Regions from separate parts of the Homo sapiens genome. Here regions 1, 2, 3 and 4 are each linked to region 5. The links are contacts of gene promoters, found by promoter capture Hi-C in human tissues and cell types (Jung and others, 2019). All regions are on one chromosome and are shown on one strand. Each heading gives the region's core, a stretch centred on a gene start or on the middle of the fragment in contact. The rest is flanking DNA. Distances are from core to core; before and after follow the strand shown.

The links. The method cuts DNA at HindIII sites, captures the fragments that hold promoters and counts their contacts. A contact is called where the count stands out against the background at its distance.
Region 1: a contact is called between a fragment that was not itself captured here and the fragment with the promoter of LYZL2 in region 5, in 1 of the 25 tissues and cell types used here (dorsolateral prefrontal cortex).
Region 2: a contact is called between a fragment that was not itself captured here and the fragment with the promoter of LYZL2 in region 5, in 1 of the 25 tissues and cell types used here (mesenchymal stem cells).
Region 3: a fragment that was not itself captured here is called in contact with the fragment with the promoter of LYZL2 in region 5 in 2 of the 25 tissues and cell types used here (lymphoblastoid cells and spleen).
Region 4: a contact is called between a fragment that was not itself captured here and the fragment with the promoter of LYZL2 in region 5, in 1 of the 25 tissues and cell types used here (lymphoblastoid cells).

What each region holds. Positions count from the first base shown.
Region 1 is chr10:32,214,717-32,219,349 of GRCh38, forward strand. No RefSeq gene overlaps it. Among named protein-coding and RNA genes, the nearest start is that of EPC1, 130 kb to the right of the region's middle. The HindIII fragment of the contact is 4,027 bases long and covers 1,138-4,633 here.
Region 2 is chr10:32,031,197-32,036,105 of GRCh38, forward strand. It overlaps KIF5B (kinesin family member 5B), which reads right to left. Exons shown (of 26, transcript NM_004521.3): 9 at 4,694-4,798; 10 at 4,326-4,471; 11 at 3,494-3,642; 12 at 2,649-2,842; 13 at 1,510-1,578; 14 at 1-83. Among named protein-coding and RNA genes, the nearest start is that of KIF5B, 23 kb to the right of the region's middle. The HindIII fragment of the contact is 3,042 bases long and covers 811-3,852 here.
Region 3 is chr10:32,173,114-32,177,720 of GRCh38, forward strand. It overlaps the pseudogene RNU7-22P. Among named protein-coding and RNA genes, the nearest start is that of KIF5B, 120 kb to the left of the region's middle. The HindIII fragment of the contact is 5,563 bases long and covers 1-4,175 here.
Region 4 is chr10:31,837,839-31,842,883 of GRCh38, forward strand. It overlaps ARHGAP12 (Rho GTPase activating protein 12), which reads right to left. Exons shown (of 20, transcript NM_018287.7): 8 at 1,799-1,873; 9 at 1,467-1,481. Among named protein-coding and RNA genes, the nearest start is that of ARHGAP12, 88 kb to the right of the region's middle. The HindIII fragment of the contact is 6,668 bases long and covers 1-5,045 here.
Region 5 is chr10:30,626,528-30,631,002 of GRCh38, forward strand. It overlaps LYZL2 (lysozyme like 2), which reads right to left and starts at 3,226. Exons shown (of 5, transcript NM_183058.3): 1 at 3,066-3,226; 2 at 250-413. The coding sequence starts at 388. The HindIII fragment of the contact is 10,435 bases long and covers 1,486-4,475 here.

The sequences.
Region 1 (4,633 bases), core at 1,901-4,400, 1.6 Mb after region 5:
GATGATTTTTTATTTTTTATTTTTTTGAGATGGAATCTTGCTCTGTCAGCTGGAGTGCGGTGGCGTGATCTCAGCTCACTGCAACCTCCGCCTCCTGGGTTCAAGTGATTCTAGTGCCTCAGCCTCCCAAGTAGCTGAGATTACAAGTGTGTGTCACAACGCTGGCTAATTTTTGTATTTTTAGTAGAGATGTTAGCCAGGCTGGTCTTGAATTCCTGGCCTTAAGCAATTTGCCCGCCTCAGCCTCCCAAAGTGCTGGGATTACAGGCATGAGCCACCGTGCCTGGCCCGATTTTTTATTTTTTGTAGAGATGGGGTCTTGCTACATTGCCCAGACTGGTCTTGAATTCCTGAGCTCAAGCAATCCTACGGCCTCAGCCTCCCAAAGAGCTGAGATTACAGGCGTGAGCCACCATACCTGGCCTTAAAATCTTTTGATTGTTAGGATAAGATTGACAAGTTAGATTTTAAAAACTCTTTAATATCCTACAAGGCAATAAATTTTAACTTTTGGGCTTATCTTTTCCACTAGACAGAAACTATTTGCACCTCTACTAGACCTGTTTAGGTTAACCTTTAAGGAATTGTAAAACAGCCCAATTGATCGAAATTAAATCAAAGAGCAAACCTAGCACCACACTGAAAGAACACTCAGAAATCTCTTTTGCCTATTTTCAATTTTGCATAATTATTCTAACAATCTCCCTCATTTGCAATAAAAAATAATCTCCAAAGATGAGTCCCAATCACAAAAGGGCTTGTCTAGATAGTTGGCTTGATTGTTTACAGAGATGTAGCAAGAATATTAATTAACTATTAGGCCAACTTGAGTTTGCTCTACAAACCTAGAGCCCTCGAATACTGAGCAACTACCAAGCCCAAGACACCCTACCAGGTCTCACCTGCAGTACCTGTTTAGACCTGACTGAAAGAGAATCCTTCTCAATTATAACATATCAGGTTTGGTCTTGATTGCACAGTTGACTTTTCCATTATATTTTTGGTAAAAAGGAGAACAGATTATTCTTGAACCTATGCAAATATTGAAGCTTTCTTTTTATCAGTGGTGATGGGTTTATTCTTGCAAATGAAGTATCACTTTCAATTATTTTTTCTAGCTGAATTACAATGATATGAAGAACGTAGTAGGTTTTCTGGTTTCTCATGCAGAGACCTTGTTTCAGGCATGAACTTAAAATATGACTCCAGGCCCTGTGGCCACCAAGCTTCTCCTATCACTTACAGGCAGTGGAGTCACCCTGCACTTAGAATTCTCCAGGTCTGAATTCTCGCTCTGCCACTTCCTAGCTATCCAGCTTTAGACTCATTTATAAAGCTCTTTGTGCCTTGATTTCCTCAACAACAACAACAACAACAAAAGAGAGTAATAATAATAATTGCCTTACAATATTGTTAAGAAGATTGAGGTCATATGTGCACAGCTTTTAGCTCATACCTGGCTGATAGTAAGTACTCAATAAATGGTTTTTTTGTTTTGTTTTATTTATTTTTGAGACAGGGTCTTGCTCTGCTGTCCAGGCTGGAGTGCAGTGGCGTGATCACAGCTCACTGCAACCTCAAACTCCTGGGCTCAAGTGATCCTCTCACCTCAACCTCCCAAGTAGCTGAAACTAAAGGCACACACCACCACATCTGACTAATTTTTTAAATTAATTTATTTATTTTTGAGATGGAGTCTCACTCTTGTCGCCTAGGCTGGAGTGCAATGACACGATCTTGGCTCACTCCAATCTCTGCCTTCCAGGTTCAAGCAATTCTCCTTCCTCAACTTCCCAAATAGCTGGGATTACAGGTGCCCACCATTACGCCCAGCTAATTTTTGTATTTTTAGTAGAGACAGGGTTTCACCATGTTGGCCAGGCTGGTCTTGAACTCCTGACCTCAGGTGATCCAGCCACCTTGGCCTCCCAAAGTGCTGGGATTACAGACCTGAGCCACTGCACCCAGCCATTTCTTTATTTTTTATATTAACAAGGTCTTGCTATGTTGCTCAGGCTGGTCTCAAACTCATGGCCTCAAGCAATCCTCCTGCCTCAGCCTCCCAAAGTGCTAGGATTATAGGTGTGAGCCAGTGTGCCTGGCCAGTAAATGTTATTATTAAGGATTAACTGTTAAATTAAGTAAGAGCAAAGAAGTAAGAAGTTCTGCAGAGGATGGGAGAGTTGTGTGTCTTCGGTGACTGCCCCTGAAGGTTTGTCTTGAGTATTTGGTGTAGTAGATCTGCGTAGACTTGCAAGACACCAAGTTGTCAAAACCACTTTCTGACAGAGAAAATTTTATCCATGATCCTTTTTGTGCACCTTATTGCTATTTCCATCACCAGTGAATTTTTACTTTACAATGCTCATTTAGCAAACATTCCTTATTTTGTTTTATGCATTTCACTTAAGAAAAGAATTGGCCATATGTTCCAAGAAAGAAAAAAAAACCAAAAACCTGTTTTGTACTCCATATGCAAAGCTGCTGTCATAGTCACTGGTTTTGCCAGTGTTTATTGTGTATTATGTTTTGCTTCAATTGACATAATTTCATGCTGCATTAGCCAGATAAGAAGGATTTATGGTGAATGATATCAAACAGTTTCAATCAGCAAAGATGCCAGGTGTGTGGTGGTGGAAAATTGTAATGGGAAGATTCTAACCTTGTTCATAGAGCACGCTAGTTACCCAAAACATTATTTTAACATCTGTTCAAGTCACACTCATTAGCAGGCATTTGCAGTATTGTGAATGAAATACTGATTTCCAAAGACAAGGCATTCAACAGTTGCCTGATTTGGAAACCAAATGGTTCCTGTCAATTTGCATGATAGTGTCAGTATGGCTGCAAAGGATGCTGTTCTGGTTTGACTGAAAGAGTGGAACCTACTGCAGGATATCTAGAAATCTGGTAGGTTTGGGGGTCTCCCCCTTCTCTCCACATCCCATTCATCGCCAAGTCCAGCAAACTCTTCTACCTGGCCATTCCTTCTCTCTCGCATCTTCTCTGTAGGTCCTGCCCGGGTTTAGGTCTGCATGGCTCTCACGCCATCGTCCCTGCCTCTAACATTTTCTACTCCAATGGTCTCTTCACATTGCTCCTGCTTGAATAATTTTTTTTCCAACATACAAATCTGATTACAGGTTGAGGATCCCTAATATAAAAATCTGAAATCTGAAATGCTCTAAAATCAGAATCTTTCTGAGTGTCGACATGACACCAAAAGTAGAAAATTCCACACATAAGTACTTAACACAAACTTGGTTTCATGCACAAAATTATTTACAATATTGCATAAATTACCTTCAAACTCTGCATATAAGGTGTATATAAAATGTTAATGAATAATGTTAATGTATAAATCGTATGGATGTATGAATTGTATAAAATGTATGAATAATGTATAAAATTACCTTCAGACTCTGTTTCGTTAAAACATTAATTAGTTTCATGTTTAGCCGTGGGTCCTAACCCCAAGATATCTCATTAAGTACATGTAAATATTTCAAAATCTGAAAAAATCCGAAATCTGAAGCACTGCTCATCCCAAGCATTTTGAATAAGAGACACTCAACCTGTATTTTACTTCCCACAACAAAGTTACTCAGTGACTCCCTGCTAACCACATGATACAATCTAAACTTCTGGGGTTGGCACACAAAGGCCTTCAGGGTTGCCCCTGCCGTCCTGTGAAGCCTTGCAGGCCCATGTTCCCTTCCACAAGCTTCACCCTCCATATTAGGGAACTCTGTGGTTTCCTTTACTCACCCTTCACATTTCTGTTCAATTGCTTTCCTTGGTAACTTAAACAAATCAACAAGCAAAAAACAACCCCATTAAAAAGTGGGCAAAAGACATGAACAGACACTTTTCAAAAGACGACATACACACAGCCAACAAGCATTTGAAAAAATGCTTAACATCACTGATCATTAGAGAAATGCAGATCAAAACCACAGTGAGATACCATCTCACACCAATCAGAATGGCTATTATTAAAAAGTCAAAAAATAACAGATGTTGGTGGGAATGTAAATCAGTTCAGCCATTGTGGAAAGCAGTTTGGCAATTTCTCAAAAAACTTAAAACAGAACTACCATTTGACTCAGTAATCCCATTATTGGGCATACACCCAAAGGAATATAAATCATTCTACCATAAAGACACATGCATGCATGCTGTGGGAAGTCAGCAACCCGAACGGAGGGACTGGCTGGAGCCAAGGCAGAAGAACATAAATTGTGAAGATTTCATGGACACTTATCAGTTCCTAAAATTAATACTTTTATAATTTCTTATGTCTGTCTTGTCTTTAATCTCTTAATCATGTTATCTTCTTAAGCTGAGAATGTACGTCACCTCAGGACCACTATTGTACAAATTGATTGTAAAACATGTATTTGAACAATATGAAATCAGTGCACCTGAAAAAGAACAGAATAACAGTGATTTTCAGGGAACAAGGGAAGGTAACCATAAGGTCTGACTGCCTGCAGGGTCGGGCAGAATAGAGCCATATTTTTTTTCTTGCAGAGAGCCTATAAATGGACGTGTGAGTAGGAGAGATATCGCTGAATTCTTTTCCCAGCAAGGAATACTAATAATGGATACCCTGGGGAAGGAATGCATTCCT
Region 2 (4,909 bases), core at 1,082-3,581, 1.4 Mb after region 5:
TCTTTAGAGGCATCATTTTCTGCTTGAAGGCGATTCAGCTCAGCTTGCATATTGTCTTGATCCCTTCTGGTAGATGCCAAAAGCTATAGGACAGAAAATAATTTATTTTCCCCAAAAGTATACAGGTTTTAAAAAACACCCATGAAGCTTCACCATTTGTCAAGAACAAATGGAGTGAAATATGGATGGTATTCAGTGTGGCAACATTTATTCATTAAACAGATTTACTAAATGTCAACTATGTGCAGGCACTGTGCTGGATGCTGCAAGGCAGAAAGAAAATCAAAGACTGTGTTTAAGGAACACAGTAGAAGAGAAGATAGGCACATGAATAAGTGCAGTACAAGATAGAAGGTCAGAACCATAAGAGAGGGACAGGACAGATAAAGTGCTTAGTAATACAGGAAAGAGTATTCATTCATGGAGAAGTTGGCTAGGAGAGATCGACTGCAGTCACATGCAAATTAATGTAATAAAGGAAAATGGCATTCTACAAGAGTTGCTTAAAAATTTAGATTTGGGCCAGGCGGGGTGGCTCACGCCTGTAATCCCAGCATTTTGGGAGGCCGAGGCGGGCGGATCACAAGGTCAGGAGTTTGAGACCAGCCTGACCAACATGGTGAAATCCCGTCTCTACTAAAAATACCAAAAAATTAGCCAGGCGTGGTGGCGGGCGCCTGTAATCCCAGCTACTCGGGAGGCTGAGGCAGAAGAGTCGCTTGAACCTGGGAGGTGGAGGTTGCAGTGAGCCAAGATCACGCCGCTGCACTCCAGCCTGGGGAACAAGAGCAAGACTTCGCCTCAAAAACAAAAACAAAACCTGGTATCAGCACATAAAATCTGAACTGCAGGGATGCCAAGAGACTAGTTAGGAGAAAACCACAATCATCCACATTAGTGGCTCTCCTGTAGGGATATCCGGAAATCTGTGGGAGTGTTAATAATAGGGTAGAATGCTAATGGCATTTAGGAGTAGGGACCAGGAATGTTTAATGTCCTATAATACAAAGGACAGAATAACATAAATTATCCAATGCAAAATATCAATAGTGCCCCTTTGAGGAATAATGCTATAGTTGAAATATGAAATGCTATAGTTGAAAGATGATCTGACCAGGATTAAGTTCACTGATGGAGAGTATCTCTTTCTTACCGAAGCAGTCTTTGTCTTCACCCTGCCCACCACCCCCACAAAAAAATTTAAAGGACTGCTTTTCAATTATCCCCCTGCTCTGCTGGGTGAGAAGATAAAATGAGGATCCAAAGTAAGTGACAAGAAGAGAAATGTCAAGAACCAGGGTGAAAAAAAAGATGGCGGAAATGAACAACAGATTGTATCTGGGTAGATACGATGAATAAGTAAAAATTCACTTTATCCATGTGACATTCTTATTCCCACAAAGACAGTCATACCCAAAATTATACAACTATTAAAGACAAAGTCAATGGGATTCAGAAAACAAAACTATAAAGCTTTTCTGGAAGCAATGTAAAAGGTATTCAACTCACCTCCTCCTGATCCAACATTTGCGTCTTCAGTTTCTCTACCAGTTGACTTTGCTGGTTAATTTCTTCATCCTAGAATTGTGAAGTATCCGGTTAACCAGTAGCTAACAACCTGGTTCTAGTTGTTTCCCAATACAGGTTATAAGATTACTACTCCCCAGAAATATTTCAAAACCATTTCTCTAAATTCAACATTGCTTATTTTAATCTCTTTTAAGAAAATGGCAAAACAAAAGGAATTTCTTTCAATTATCAATACTTATAATGGTCATGTACTTCGAACCTGCCATCTCTGCTTAAAATATATTAAAAATATCAACTTAAGAAAATATTTTCTTCTAATCTCTTTACTACTCTTGTTCTTGCCTTCCATTCTATTACGTTCTTAGTTTGCTATTATTCATACTATTGACATTACTTCTATATGCAAAGCAGGAAGATATTATTTCCACTCTATTGTGTTTCCCTTAATCTCTCACATCATCTTTTATTGGAGTCTTCAGAGCCCTGATTCTAACAATTGGTATCATTGAGGCTCCCAATGACCCAATGCCAAATTTTCATTAGAACAGGGGTCCCCAAGCCCCCAGGCCACAAAGCAGTACTGGAAGCCTGTTAGGAACCAAGAAGCACAGCAGGAGGTGAGCAGCAAGCATTACCACTTGAGCTCCGCCTTCTGCCAGATCAGCAGCATTAGAATATCATTAAGAGCGCGAACTCTATTATCAGCTGTGCATGCAAGAGATCTAGGTTAGAGGATCCTTATGAGAATCTAATGCCTGATAATCCAAGGTGGAAGTTTCATCCCAAAACCATCTCCCCGACCTGATCCACGGAAAAACTGTCTTCCCTGAAACCAGTCCCTGGTGCCAAAAAGGTTGGGGACTGCTGCCTTATAAAGTTCTTTTAGCTTAAAAAGAGGGGGAAGAAAAGATACATGCTCATACAGTTTCCACACAGAAATTGAAATTATGACTTTTTATTTTGTTAATACAATAATTTTTACAAGATTAACAGAAATCAAGGAAGATGCATAAAGATCCTAAGTGCCCACAGCACTGAAATGAGAAAAGTTAGAAAATAAAAACACCCATGTCAATAGTATCCTAATATAAAGCAGACCTAAATCAAGCAATACCTACCTTGTCATCAAGCTGTTTGTATAATTTAGCAATTTCTTCTTCACACTTTCTTCTTTCAGCATCAGTAAAATTTCCTATAACTCCAATTGCGGTTGCTGGTTTATCATTGGTAAGAGTAATATCTTTATCCACTGTGAAAGCTTCCAAGTTGGCTTTCTCTTTGTCAAACTGTTCATCAATAGGCACCGTCTCCCCTAAAATAAGAAAATAAAGTGGTTAATAAAAAAACGACGTCTAAAGCTAATTTCAATTTCATTCCTTTAAAAATTTTTTTTTTTTTTTTTGAGACAGAGTCTCAATCTGTCACCCTGGCTGGAGTGCAGTGGTGCAATCTAGGCTCACTGCAACCTCTGCCTCCAGGGTTCAAGCAATTCTACTGCCTCAAGACTCCTGATTAGCTGGGATTACAGGCGCTCAGCACCATGCCAGGCTAATTTTGGTGTTTTCAGTAGAGATGGGGTTTCAACATGTTGGCCAGGCTGGTCTCTAACTCCTGACCTCAAGTGATCTGCCCACCTTGGCCTCCCAAAGTGCTAGGATTACAGGCATGAGCCAGTGCACCCAGCCTCGTTCTTTCAAACTTTTTCTTCTCTGTGTTATTTTCAAATAATCTGTCTTCAAGTTCAGATTCTTCTGCTTAATTAATTCTACTACTGATGGTCTCTTGCATTTTGCTCATTTTATTTTTCAGCTCCAGGATTTCTATTAATTTTTTTAAAAATTATTTCGATGTCTATTAAATTTCTTGATCTAGTCACTTACTGATTTTGCTGAACTATTTCTACGTTTCTATGCTCTAAATCTGTATTTAACAAACTGAAGATGACAAATTCTTAAGTTATTACCATTACGCCATCTGTTGAGCTCATTTTCAAGCCACTGAATAGTGTTCCGCAGGATCTTATTTTTTTCTTTTTCTTTTTCATACTTCTTTTTCCACTGTTCTGCAGTTAACTCCACATTGACACAAACTGTGTTCTTAATTGTTTTGGCCCTAAGAGATGTAATTGGAGGAAAAAAAGGATGAGACTGAAATTATTTTTAATTTTATCTATATGGAATATATGTATATATGGCTAAGAAACTTATGCTTGTCCAGTAATCTCTTAGACTAAATACTAAAAGCCGCAACATATGACGTTATTTACAACTCAACTAAATTTGAGTCTGCTCCAAAATCTGTGAATAGCTTTAAAAAAAAAAAAATCAACAAACCACTAAAAATAAAAGACAAAGGCCTATATTTTTCCAATTTGTTTGCAAGGCTGAATTAAGAAATTACTGTTGAAAGTCAAAGACGGAATCATCATTACTGATTTTCCTAATCATCTCATACAGATTATATTAACCTGTCATGCATGTCTACAGGCTTAACAGAGGATTATGTTTGCCAGGCTTTGACCTCATTATTTGATTCAAATGCTTATTTTCTTTAATACCAAATTACAGCTTGTCACACAAATTTGACTAAAATTACATCTGACTTTAATGTGTACTAAAACTTAAACCAAGCAGTCTAAAAATCAGACCCACCTTGTATTATCTGTCATCAATTCAAACTGAGTGTGTCTAGCACAAAACAGTATGTACAGGTTGGAATAACAGCTCACATTTTCCTACATTTTATAAACAAAAGGTCTATCTAAATTTAGGTTTTGTACTTTCTTAACAACAAACCTTTGGCCAAATAAGAGTGTAGATTTTGTTTCAGACTCATTGTATGATGATGGAGAGCAGCAAATTACAATAGTGGTTCTACAGTTGCCACCTAATGAATCTTGAAGGATTCTTGTCATTTTACTATCTCGATATGGAACATATGTCTGCATACAAAAACAAAGAAAGAAAACAAGACCAGTATAATAAAATGTTATTATAAAATAAACTCCCAAAAGACAACTAACTTACACATACTGATTCAAACACATTGAATCTCAATCTCTCTTTCTCTCTCTCTCTCTCATACACACCCAGGCACACATATACACCTATATTTAAATAATGCCCCATAAGGTAACAGGGAGATAGAAGACATGTATACTCACACTACCCTCAGCCAAAGCAGAAATAACATTTCCAAGAGCAGAAAGTGACTTGTTGATGTTTTTAGCTTCATCCAGCACAGCACCTTCAGCTCCAGTTTTACTAACCTATACATAAGATTTCAAAAGAATGAAACAAAATTACAAGTTTATAATTTTCTTTACATTTTCTAAAATGTTCATATGTCATCAATAACCAGTAAAAAAGAAAAAAGAACA
Region 3 (4,607 bases), core at 144-2,643, 1.5 Mb after region 5:
TCCCACATTAGCCTTTCAAGTAGCTAGGACTACAGGCATGCACCACCACACCTGGCTATTCTTAAAAGTTTTTATGGAGACGGGGTCTCACTGTCCTGGCCAGTCTGGTCTTGAACTTCTGACCTCAAGATATCTTCCCACCTTGGCCTCCCAAAGCACTGAATTATAAGCATGAGCCACTGTGCCCAGCCTTGGTTTTAAATATACATACATACATATATATATATATATGTATATATATGTGTATATATATGTGTATATATATGTGTATATATATGTATATATGTGTATATATGTATATATGTGTATATATATGTATATATGTATATATATATGTATATATATGCGTATATATATGTGTATATATGTGTATATATATGTATATATGTATATATATATGTATATATATGTGTATATATGTATATATATATGTGTATATATGTATATATATGTGTATATATATGTATATATATATGTGTATATATACATATATATATAAAATATAGAAAGCAACAAAAGTGAGATACAGTTCTTCCTCTTCCCTTTCTTTTTCTTAAAAGAAAATCTTTTGAGTGTTACAGCTCTTTTAGAATTTGTCTAGCCGGCTTTCCAGTTTTGCCGGAAAGCCCCCAAATAAATAAATAAATATAAATCTTTTGCATCAAAGGACATTATCAAGAATGTGAAAGACAACCTACAGAATGGGAGAAAATATTAACAAATCATATATCTCATAAGGGTTCAATATTCAGAATATATAAAGAACTCTTACAACTCAACAACAAAAACATAACATAGGGCCTGGCATGGTGGCACACGCCTGTAATCCAGCACTTAGGGAGGCTGACACGGGTGGATCACCTGAGGCCAGGAGTTCAAGACTAGCCTGGCCAATATGGCGAAACCCCGTCTTAACTAAAAACACAAAAATTAGCTGGGCATGGCGGGCACCTGTAGTCCCAGCTACTCGGGAGGCTGAGGTGGGAGAATCGCTCGAACCCAGGCGGCAGAGGTTGCAGTGAGCCGAGATTGCACCACCACACTCTCCAGCCTGGGCAGCAGAGCGAGACTCCATCTCAAAAAAAGAAAACAAAAAAAATAAACAGATAACTCAGTTAAAAAACAGGCAAAGGACATGAATAGACATTTCTCCAGAGAAGATATACGCATGGCCAAAAAGCACATGAAAAGATTTTCCACGTCATTGGTCATTAGGGAAATTAAATCACAACCAAAATGAGATACCACCTCAACTAGGATGGCTCAAATAAAAAAAAGAGTTGGTGAGGGTATAGAGAAACTGGAACCCTTCAGCATTGCTGGTGCAAATGTATAAAGGGTGCAGCCACTGTGGAAAACAGTCTGGCAGTTTCTCAGAAAGTTAAACATAGAGTTTCCATATGACCCAGCAATTCCGCTCCTAAGTATACACCCAAGAGAAATGAAAACATATGTCCACACAGAAATTTATACACAAGTGTTTATAGCAGCATTATTTATTTGTTTAAGCTTTTAATTTTTTTTGAGACAGGGTTTCACTCCCATCACCCAGGCTGGAGTGTAGTGATGCAATCTTGGCTCACTGCATTCTCCACCACCGGCGCTCAAGCAATTTTCCTGCCTCAGCCTCCAGTGTAGCTGGGATTATAAGACCATACCTGGCTAATTTTTTGTATTTTTAGTAGAGACAGGGTTTTGTGATGTTGAGCCTGAGATCAGGTGATCTGCCTGCCTTGGCCTTGCAAAGTGCTGGGATTACAGGCATGATCCACCATGCCCAGCCAACAGCATTATTTGTGATACCCAAAGGTGGAAACAGCCCATCCGTTGATGAATGGATAAACAAATGTGGTATACTTTTTTTTGGAGACAGAGTTTTGCTCTGTCACCCAAGCTGGAGTGCAGTGGCGCAATCTCGGCTCACTGCAACTTCTGCCTCCCGGGTTCAAGCGATTCTCCTGTCTCAATCTCCTGAGTAGCTGCAATTATAGGCGCCCACCACTGCACCCGGCTAAATTTTGTATTTTTAGTAGAGATGGGGTTTTGTTGTGTTGGCCAGACTGATCTCAAGCTCCTGACCTCAAGTGATCCACCCACCTCGGCCTCCCAAAGTGCTGGGGTTACAGGCGTGAGCTACGGCGCCCAGCCAACTCTTTTTTTTTTTTTTTTTTTTTTTTTTTTGAGACAGAGGCTCGCTCTGTAGCCCAGGCAGGAGTGTAATGGTGCGATCTCGGCTCTCTGCAACTTTTGCTCCCTGGGTTCAAGCGATTCTCCTGCCTCAGCCTCCTGAGTAGCTGGGACTACAGGTGCGCGCCACCATGCCCAGCTAATTTTTGTATTTTTAGTAGAGACGGGGTTTCACCACGTTGGTCAGGCTGGTCTCAAACTCCTGACCTTGTGATCCACCCACCTTGGCCTCCCAAAGTGCTGGGATTACAAATGTAAGCCACGGTGCCCAGCCAACTCTTAACGAAGTAGTATTCAGCCATAAAAAGGAACAAAGTACTGACACATGCTACAATATGAAGGAACCTTGAAAACATTAAGCTACCTGAAAGAAGCCTGTTACAAAAGGCCATATATGTATCATTCCATTTATATGAAACATCCAGGTTAGGCAAATCCATCAAGACAGAAAGTGGATTAGAGGTTAGCAAGAGGTGGGTGGACAGAGAAGTGGGGAGTGATTACTTAGTGGGTATAGGGCTTCCTTTTACAGGTAAAGGAAAAAATCTTGAAACTTGAGAGAGCTGGTGGTTGCACAATATTTGAGTGCACTAAATGTGACTGAATTGGTCATTCAAAATGAACAAAAGTGGTTAATATTATGTAAATTTCTTTTGTTTTTTTTGAGACAGAGTCTCGCTCTGTCACCCAGGCTGGAGAGCAGTGCTGCCATCCTCGCTCACTGCAATCTTTGTCTGCCGGGTTCAAGCAATTCTCCTGCCTCAGCCTCCCAAGTAGCTGGGATTACAGGTGTGCACCATCACGCCCGGCTAATTTTTGTATTTTTAGTAGCGAAGGGGTTTTACCATGTTGGCCAGGCTGGTCTTGAACTCCTGATCTCAAGTGATCTGCCCACCTCAGCCTCCCAAAGTGCTGGCATTATAGGCATGAGCCACTGTGCCTGGCCATAAATTTCACTTCAAAAAAAAAAAAAGTGATCAGTTAAGGAAAAAAAAAAAAAGATAGTTGGGCCTAGGTCATGAAGAGGCTGAAAACCAAGCAGCAGAATTTGTGCTTTATTCTGTAGGTAATAGGGAGCCATTGAAGGTTTTATCCAGTGACAGCCGTTGAGTCGGGTAGAACAGAGAGGAAGGGAGAAACTGGAGCTGGGTGGGCCAAGTAGAAGGTCACTGTCATAGTCCAGCTGCCAGCAAGAACTGACATGGCTCTGCAAGCAACAGAGAGGGAAGGAAAATATGAGAGAACCATTTCAGTACCAATAGGGTCTCAGCAACTGATTGGATATGGGCAGCAAGGAAAGCCAGGAGTGGATTGATTTTGAGGTATTGAACCGGGTGCCTGCATAAAGGTGGATTCATAGGAGAAGGAGCTGCTCTTTGAAGGTGTTAAAAAATGGAAGAGGGGCCAGGTGCGCTGCCTCACACCTGTAATCCCAGCACTTTGGGAGGCCGAGGAGGGTGGATCACTTAAGGTCAGTTCAACACCAGCCTGGCCAACATGTTGAAACCCTGTCTCTACTACAAATACAACAATTAGCTGGGCATGGTGGCACACTCCTGTAGTCCCAGCTACTCAAGAGACTGAAGCACAAGAATCACTTGAACCCAGGAGGTAGAGGTTGTAGTAAGCCGAGATCATGCCACTGCACTCCAGCCAGGGTGACAGAGCTAGACTCCATCTCAAAAAATAATAATTAAAAAATTTAATAGAAGAAGAAGGTGATGGGCTCAGATCAGTTTTAAGCCCTGGCTGGGGATCTAACGAAAAGCTCTCCAGCCGGGCACAGTGGCTCACACCTGTAATCCCAGCACTCTGGGAGGCTGAGGCGGGTGAATCACAAGGTCAGGAGACCGAGACCATCCTGGACAACATGGTGAAACCCCGTCTCTACTGAAAATACAAAAATTAGCTGGGTATAGTGGCGCGTACCTGTAATTCCAGCTACTCGGGAGGCTAAGGCAGGAGAATCGCTTGAACCAGGGAGTCGGAAGTTGCAGTGAGCCGAGATCATACCACTGCACTCCAGCCTGGCGACAGAGCGAGACTCTGTCTCAAAAAACAAACAAACAAACAAACAAACAAACAAACAAATGCTCTCCAAGCAGGAACCATGGACTTGTTCTGGGGAGCAACTCAGATTTGGGTGGAGGTAACTCAGGAGGTTCAAGTCACACCCACTCCCTGCTACTGTCCCCAGAGTAGGAGTCCCCAAGTCAGGCTCCATGGTATCCCCAATGAAGAGGGTAAAGCCAAGACCAGGCTTCTGTAATTAACTGTAGCTACTCAATGCTTCACCCAGCAGGGAGTGGGAGAGTGGCTGAAATGTGGGTCCCAGTTCCACCGTGGTGAGCCCTGCCTGCCCCTGCTTTTCCCACAGGGTTTTTAGGAACACCACAAGCACAGAGGTGTACGGTTCCTGC
Region 4 (5,045 bases), core at 1,946-4,445, 1.2 Mb after region 5:
TTAAAAAGCTTTAAGGTTTCATTTATTTATTCAACAAATATTTACTGAGCAGCTATTATATGGCACTGTGGGAGGTAATGGGGTAACTCTGTTCCTGCTCTAATGAAGCTTTACTCTGTCTGGTGGGGAAGACAGACATTAATAGAGAGTTGGAGGTTCCTATAAGAAATAAATAATGACAAGTTATTTTATGTAATCGAATAATATATAATCAAATACTATGAAGAGTATTATAGGAAAACTTTGCCTAACCTAGAGAATTAGAATAAAATTCTCTGAGGAAATAAAAGTTCAAACTAAGCCCTGATGAATGAATAGAAGCTAACCAGGCAAAGATGTCGGGGAGAATGTTTCAGCATGCAGAAGAAATGACACACACAAGGACCCTGATCTGAAAGGCAGGCTCCTTTGAGGAACTGAGAGAAGGGTGGTGTGGTAGGACAACAAGCAAGAAGGGAAAAGGAAATATGAGATGAGGTGGTGGAGGCACTCAGGAGCCAGAGCATGCACAGCCTTGTCATGCTCATTAAGAATTTTAGGGCTTCATTCTACAAGAAAACAGGCTGGGTGTGGTAGCTCACATCTGTAATCCCAGCACTTTGGGAGGCCAAGGCAGGCATATCACTTGAGGCCACAAGTTCAAGACCAGCCTGGGCAACAAAGCAAGACCCCTTATCTCCATAAAAATTTTTAAAAAATTAGCCAAGCGGGCCAGGCACAGTGGCTCATGCCTGTAATCCCAGCACTTTGGGGGGCCAGGGTGGGTGGATCACTTGAGGGCAGGAGTTTGAGACCAGCCTGGTCAACATAGCGAAACCCCGTCTCTACTAAAAATACAAAAAATTAGCCAGGTGTTGTGGCGCATGCCTGTGATCCCAGCTACTCGGCAGGCTGAGACAGAAGAATCACTTGAACCTGGGAGGTGGAGGCTGCAGTTAGCCGAGATCATGCCATTGCACTCCAGCCTGGGCAACAGAGTGAGGCTCCATCTCAAAAAAAAAAAAAAAAAAAAATTTAGCAGAGCGTGCTGGTGCATGCCTGTGGTCCCAGCTACTAGGGAGGCTGAGACGGGAGAATCACCTAAGCCTGGTGGGGGAGGGGCAGGTGGTTGAGGCTGCAGTGAGCTATGATGGTTCTACTACACTCCAGCCTGGACAACAGAGCGCAACCATGTCTCTATTTAAAAAACGGTAACGAAAAAAAACCCAGAAGCCATTGAAGGGGAATAGCATGATCAGCAACAGAAAAGACTGGGAATGAGTATAAATACAGAAATTAAGTAAAATTTCATCAGAGTTAAGACAGGTATCTTAACAGAAGTCACATGGAGGTTTTCCAGTTTAGGAGAACTTACAGTTAAGCTATATTATTTCCAATATTCATCTGGCACAGACTTGGCAATATATTTTACAGCATAGAAAATGAAGGTGTCTATGCCTATTAAGAAGGAGAGGATTGCTTCTTACCTTTGGACTGCTGGCCTGAGGAAAAAAAGAGTAAAGTATAATGTCATAGTATTGTCTGGGAATTTTATATTTATTTTTAAAAACAAATATAAGTTCATCACTTAAAAATATGGTATATAATTTAATCATGTAAGATACCATATTTTAAACAAAAGGGGGACTTTTAAATCAATAAAATCTGATTGTTAAACTTATTTTGATTGTGATTTTTTAGAAAAACCAATGAAATTTAATAGAAGCTCATTTAAACATTACATTAAGAGTAAATTAACTTGCTAAAATTGATTGAAATAACTGGACTACATTATAAGATATGCTTCTATCATACTAACTGTATCTTGGTGCTTTGGTGAGGAGGGAGAAGACTCATTTTCAGGAAAGCAGGGTTTTGAGGCAGTTGGAGATTCCTACAAGAAATAAGTAATGAAAAAAGTTACTCTATTTTATATAATTATATTTCTGCCTCTACTCACAGTGGGAGAGCTTAGTAAGAGAGAATAACAAATTTTTTCCTCGTTATTTTCGTTCTATATTCAGCTCCAAGCTAATAAGGTAATGATTTTAAAACTACAAACGTTATTAAAAGTTTATAAAATATGGTGCTTTTTATAGCAATTACAGTTAAATTTAAATAATGCATATGGAATTACTCAAAAGAAATGATACAAGCTGCCTTAAAATCATGATGTTATATCAGTTTGAATTAACCATATTAAAATAAGTAAAACCTAAACACTTCTGGATAAATAAGTTATAATCATGATACTAACTTGCTCTTGGTATGGTAAGTATAAATACCCAGGATTAGGCAAGGTCACAGAAATACCTTAGCAAATGCCAGAATGAGAATTTAATTTTAGTCAAAAGCTATATAAGAAATTAAATTGCTATTAGTATTTAAGGTAATTTATAGAAAACTTTCCAAAAATTAGAAATAAGATATTTTAAATTCAAGAAAGAAACCTACGATTTAAATATTAATAACTCCCCAGAAAAAAAAATTTTAATGTCTAAGCCTACAAGAGTATCATAAGACCAAACCAATAACGTGTTTTTTTTTTAAGCAGTCTGCTTTGTCAATATTAAAACACAGAATATGATTTCTATTACAGATGTTGATAGGACTATTCATGGAGGGTAAGACTGAAAAACTTTTTTTTGGTAGCAGTAGCCCACCTCCACTTAAATTTTCTCCATTTCCTTAGATGTTTTGAATAATTTCAGAAAAAGAGAATTTTTTAAATCATACACCATTACCTATTATTAATTTGTTTCTATCAAACCAAAAAGTTCCTTTGAACATTCATCTCCACGTAGGTATCATTCTAGTTTTCTATGTCTATAAACCTGGAGAAGGTGCTGTCAACCAACCTGGGAATTTGTTTTAAGTAACACTTGCAAAAAAACTATTAACTCAACATTTACTGATTTGGAAAAATGTCTTCGGGTTTATATCCCACACAATTTGTAAATACAGAAACTAGTAGCAGTGAAAGTTTACATGGAAGCCCTTGAAGGGACAAGTTTATAAATCAAACAAGGTACTATTAATGGAGAAAATATTAAAATCACATTGAATAAAAAACTTCAAAAAAATTTAACTTAAGATCCAAATCTCACTTAAGTATTTTTTTCTGACAACTTCAGATCAATTTTTGATTCCTAAGACTGTCTGATAGTAAAACAGTATGAGAAAGATGGAAGATCTGATGATTCATAAAGTAGAAAATAAGTAACTGAATAAAATGATAATTATATTTTTCATAGCACATTCAGTCCCACAGAAATAAAAACCACAAATACAGTAATAACATATGTACAATTATAACTATTATAAACAAGAAATAATTTTACATGTATACATTTATCTATATTTAGATATATGCATATAAATATACACCTTATACATCTATGAATAGTTTTAGTAAAAACAGAAAAAAAAGGCAGAAACAGATGCATTCACACATACACACACAGACATACGGCTACCCTTCCAAGGTTATCTGTAAACTGAATTAGGACCTATGTCATCACAACAACATTTGCTATACAATAATAGATGGTCCTTGACTTATGATTGTTCAACTTTAAGGTGATGGGAAAGTGATAGGCATTCACTAGAAAACATACTTGAAATTTTGATCTTTTCCTGGGCTAACAATATTCAATATGACACTCTCTCATGATGCTGCACAGAGGCATCTAGCCCCAGCTTCCAGTCAGCCACCTGATTACCAGGGTAAACAGATTACAACGGTAAATAATTGATATTCTACAGTGTACCATGTTACTGAATGATTTTGCCCCACTGTAGGTTAATGTAAATGTTCAGAGCACATTTAAGGTAGGCTAGGCTAAGCCATGATGTACAGTGGGTTAGGTGTATTACATGCATTTCACCTTGTGGTATTTTCAATTAATGGTATTTTCAACTTATGTGGGTTTACTGGGATATAACCTCACCCTAAGTTGCAGAGCATCTGTATTAGGTTGCTGTGATTACAATTCAGGTTATACACACTTCATCCCTTATCACATATTAGCTAGTTTGTTCTGGTAGTCAGTCCCTTTTTCAAAACCTAAAATACTGCCTTATGTTAAGAAACTTATGCATCTGTTTGCAAAGGGTAAGGTAGAGGGTAAAAAAGACATTTCTACCAAAAATAAGTAAATCTCTAATCGCAAAAAAATCATATTCTTGCAACTCTGGGACAATGAGATGAAAGCATGCAAGTTATTTAAAGCAAGAGATTGAAAATTAATTTTAAAAAATGAATTGAGAGATTAAAAAGGAGTAAGATTGTTTGACATTTTATGATGTCGAAAAAAAGAAAAAGGAGTAAGAAATTTTAAGCATAAATTATCAAAATAATCATCCTATTTGTTCTGGTATGAAGAGGCGGTAGAGTTGGTTCAACAATGGTTTGACTTAGAACAGTATATATGGTATTTGGGAGATTCCTATTTATCCTGAATTGTAATCTGGTTCTTGGTTGAGTGAATTTTTCCTATTAGAAATCTCTAGGTATTTTTCTTACCTAGATTAATCTCAACACTAATATATTTTCAAGCATATCTTCAATAGCACAGACTCCAGAATGTCATTCCTTTAATGTGGTCTCTATATTCAACACAAGATCCTTACAAACTAGAAACTAGAAACTGGTCTGTTACTTTCGTTGTTTTCTATTAGTCCATCTTATACACATGTATGAAGGCTGTTTCTAACACTACACCTTTAAATTCAACAAAGACCAATTTTATAGTAACTTGTAGTACCAAAATATTATGCTTGTTATGACTGATAAATTGAGATTATTTATAAAGGAATTTAGGACTGAAAGTATCCAAACATAATGAAATATGCCATAGGGATAGTTAATTCTGTTTTCATGAACACACCTAAAAATTACAGAAAAACTGTTAGTCATGCTACAAGAAGCCTGATGATTTAAAAAACCTTTACATTTCAAAATCAATATACCTAATATTCTGCAAATTCATACTAAGTTCCCAACTTATCCCCAAAATGAAGCTACACTGTGAATAAGTAACCTCTAAAGAAGTGTTTAAAACATC
Region 5 (4,475 bases), core at 1,976-4,475:
GAGGTGGCATTATTTTCCCCTTCCCTGGCTAGTGTCATAAGGACAGGACTCCAGGAATAAGGAAATGAGGGGCAGGGGAGGAAGGAGAGGAGACCCAGAGAGCCACAGTTAGGCCAGCAGCCACCCCTGGGTGTGGTGAGGGCAGAGCAGGGGTAGTTGGGGAGACACAGCAGGGAGTGTAGCCAGGACCTTCAACATCTCAGGGGAAAGGTCAAGGACAGAAAGAGAGCAGGAAAGAAATAATCTCACAGTTTCCAAGGCTGAAGCCCCAGTAATTGTCCAGGCCAGCCCTCGAGAATATTTTTGCCAGTTTGCAACGAGTGTAGATTTTGGACTCGGCGCCTGTGACCAGGCAGCCAATGAGGGTCAGAATGCCCGCAGCCTTCATCCTCAAAGCCTGCCGGAGACAGAACCTGCCAAAGAGCCGGAGAACAGGTCAGACGATCTTGATTCAGGAACTTCGAAATCCAGCATCGGTGACTGTGCACAGCCCTGCCTAGATGCTGCCTGTCACTTTGGTCATTCAGTGCCACCATCAGGGAAAACCGGCCACTCTACGGTCCAGGGAAGGAATGTGACTGCAGGCTGTCTCCTTAATGCTTTTCCATACAGTAACTTTCAAGTCAATGCTGTGTTCTCAGGGTTAAGTAAGTGAAAAAATTAACCTTCCTTAATACACATCCAGGTGAAAACCACAAGGGGCATTTTTAGGATTTCTATTTTAATTCTATGAATGAAAAATAGAATACAGGGGTGAAACATTCCCTATACTGCTGACCCTTGAACATCATGGGTTTGAACTGCGTGGGTCCATTTATCCGTGAATTTTCTTCTGCCTCTGCCACCCCGAGACAGCAAGACCAACCCCTCCTCTTCCTCCTCCACCTCAGCCTGCTCAGTGTGAAGACCACCAGGATGAAGCCCTTTATGATGATCCACTTCCACTTAACAAATAGTAAATATAATATAATAGTAAATATTTACTATTAACAAATAGTTAATATTTACAAATAGTAAATATATCTTCTCTTCCTTATGATTTTCTTAATAACATTTTCTTTTCTCTAGCTTACTTTATTGTAAGAATCCAGTATAGACATAGAACGTACAAAATATGTGTTTATTGGCTGTTCATGTTATTGGTAAGGCTTCCAGTCAGCAGTAGGCTATTAGTCGTTAAGCTTCTGGGGAGTCAAAAGTTACATGCAGATTTTCAACTGAGCAGGCATTGGCACCCCGACCCCTACATTTGTTCAAGGATCAACTGGGTGTGTAGAAACAGACACCCCATTTCAGCCAGAGATGAAATACACGTGGACCTGAATGGAAAACTTTAAGATTCATCGTCTAGGCCAGGCGCGGTGGCTCACGCCTGTAATCCCGGCACTTTGGGAGGCCGAGACGGGCGGATCACGAGGTCAGGAGATCAAGACCATCCTGGCTAATGCGGTGAAACCCCGTCTCTACTAAAAATACAAAAAAATTAGCCGGGTGTGGTGGCATGTGTCTGTAGTCCCAGCTGCTCGGGAGGCTGAGGCAGGAGAATGGCGTGAACCCAGGAGGCTGAGCTTGCAGTGAGCGGAGATTGCGCCACTGCACTCCAGCCTGGGCGACAGAGCGAGACTCCGCCTCAAAAAAAAAAAGATTCATCGTTTGGGGGTTTATTGAAGGGTGAAGATTAAGCACCTAATCTTTCCTTTTCTTTTCTTGATGCATTTCAAAATGTGGGAGCATTGCTTCCAAAGTACTAGTGTTTTATCTTAGATTGCAAATGCATTGCTTTGCTAAGCTTCACAACCAGTGCTCCGGGCGGCCTCCTAAAAGTCTGGCACCTGACTGGGGAGCAAGAGGGATGGAGGACAAAGCCTCATGAAAGGAGGAAAGCACCTGGGGGAGCAGAGGGACAATAAAGAGGCCCCCATAGAATCGTCTGAAATGGGAGTAGGATCAAGAGCGCTGTCTCCTGCTGCCTACTGATTTTCCACAATCTCCTCCCCTCTTAAAATAATGTCTTCCCCAAACACAACAGCCTTGCTGGGATGGGGTGAAGTGAAATTTCTGACAACTACTCGGGATCCTGAACTTGATGTTCTTACATATGTTCATCCCGTGTCATTTTCTGCACTTGCCTGGAAACTTCTCTAGTCATTAGTTTCTCTCCCTGGGGCTGGATTCCTGCATTGAAAGGCTAGGCCCAAAACAGGGATAAGTAGTCATCAGCAAGGCCACCGCACCGAGTAACAAGCAGGGCTTTAAGGTGACTAAGCAATAAGATAAGGAACTGCATTGCATGAGGGGCATGTACATTACAAACGTGAATAGCAAGCGTGGGCAAACCAGGCCCGCTTTTGTATGTAAAGTTTTATTGAAACATAGCTACTCTCATCATTTGGTAATATATTGTTGGTGGCTGATTTCCTGCTGCAGTGGCAGAGTTGAGTAGCTGTGTTAGAGGCTGTATAGACCACAAAGCCTAACATATTATTATCTGGCCCTTTTCAGAGAGATCATGCCAGTCCGTGGTGTACAGCATTGTGCTAAGCTGTGAGGGACAGACAAACGAGGTTTAAGATGCAGAGCTTAGGCTGGGCATGGTGGCCCACACCTGTAATCTCAGCACTTTGTGAGGGTGAAAAGGGCAAATTGCTTGAAGCCAGGAGTTTGAGACCAGCCTGGGCAACAAAGGTAGACCTCTGTCACTACAAAATACACAAAAATTAGCCAGGCATAGTGGTGTGTGACTGTGGTCCCACCTGTTTGGGAGGCTGAGGTGGGAGGATCTTTTAAGGCTGGGAGGTTGAGGCTGTTGTGAGTTGTGATTGTGCCACTGCACTCCAGCCTGGGCAACAGAGTGACATCCTGTTTCAAAAAAAAAAAAAAAGATGCAGAGCTTACAAATAAGGTTGGTTTCCATCCTCTGCCTTAGAATGTTAACTGATCTCAAACAAGTCAAAACAAAACCCGTAGCAATGATAACCCCAAGCATCATGTTCTACATCCTTCAAGAACCTGCCATTGCTGGTTCTCAGGGACAGGTGGCTTCATAAGAGTAATTTAGGTCTTACTGAAAAGGCAGATTCCTGGTGCCTGCCGCAGAGGCTGACTTCTCAGTTGAGTCTGCGGAAGAAACACTGCTCCACTTAGTCGGTGACAGGCAGCTCAGGGGAGCGTCCTGCATCCCCTGAAGCCATGTCTGATTCTAACAAGGCTCGAGTAATCCTTTCCTAGCTCAAGAACCTTTCTTTAGAGTGTTAGAGAAAGAAAAATTCTTAGTCCTTTGTTTCTCACCACCTAGAGATGCTAGAATTCTACTTCTTGGCACTAAAAGCTATATCATCCTGCACGCTTGTGTTCTGAAGCAGGTGCTAACTCTCTTCTGGGCCTTAATACCTCTCGTTTTTTCTCTTTTCCTCTCAACAACTGTCCTCACTACACAACTTGGCCAGGGCCTCCCGTCCAAGTGAGAGCTCTTCTCTAAGGCAACAGTCTGCAAACTTTATCACAAATTCCATTAATAAAGTTAAGCATGTATCCTCTTTAGATGTATATTAAATTATAAATCACACTTCTGTACCTCTGTACTAATATGCTACATAAATTATCAACATACACAAAACTAAAATCTGAAAATGAATGAGAGGTGAAATTAACATTAAAAATTAATTAACAGCACATTTCTTTGCTATAGTTATATTGTTAATTAATAAAATATTGTCAAAGGAGGGCCACAAAAGAAATAAAAAATTTTTATGTATAATTAACATGATTTCATTGTTTTTTAAAAATTTGGCTTAACACTTTGTGACTCAATAAAGAGCTAGTTTGAAGGTCCATTTATTTCTGTGTTCAGATTTAATGACACATTTGAAATGAATTCTCATTGGAATATGTAGATCTCAGTATAAGTTTGTTGTTAGTTGTACCTAACTAATTATTGTATTTTATTAAATTCCATCTGCAAATAATGCAAAGATCTTGTTGAAATCTAGTTTTAAGTTTATATAGTATTACATTGTGTAGATATAACATATTTAGCCAATTCCATATTGACTCACACTTAAGGTATTTTTTTCTTCTATGATAAACATATTACAATTAGTAATCTTGTACATTTGTCATTTGTACATTTGCAAGAATATCTGTAGGATACATTCCTGGAAATTGAATTGCTGGGTTAAGGACTGTAATTTTGTAATTTTGCTAGATATTGCCAAATTGCCTTCCACGTGGGCTTGTATGACGAAGATGGCTAGCATACCCTATTACCAAAGGTTAAGATATTTGCTAATATTAGAGATGAAACATAATTTGTCAGCAAAGTTTCAATTTCAGCTTCCCTTATTTCAAGCTGTCTGAGCATCTTTTCTTATCTTCAGAAGCCATTTGTGGACTTTTTTCTCTCTCTCTCTCTCTTTTTTTTTTTTTTTAATTGAGACAGAGTCTCCCTCTGTTGTCCAGGCTGGAGCTCAGTAGTG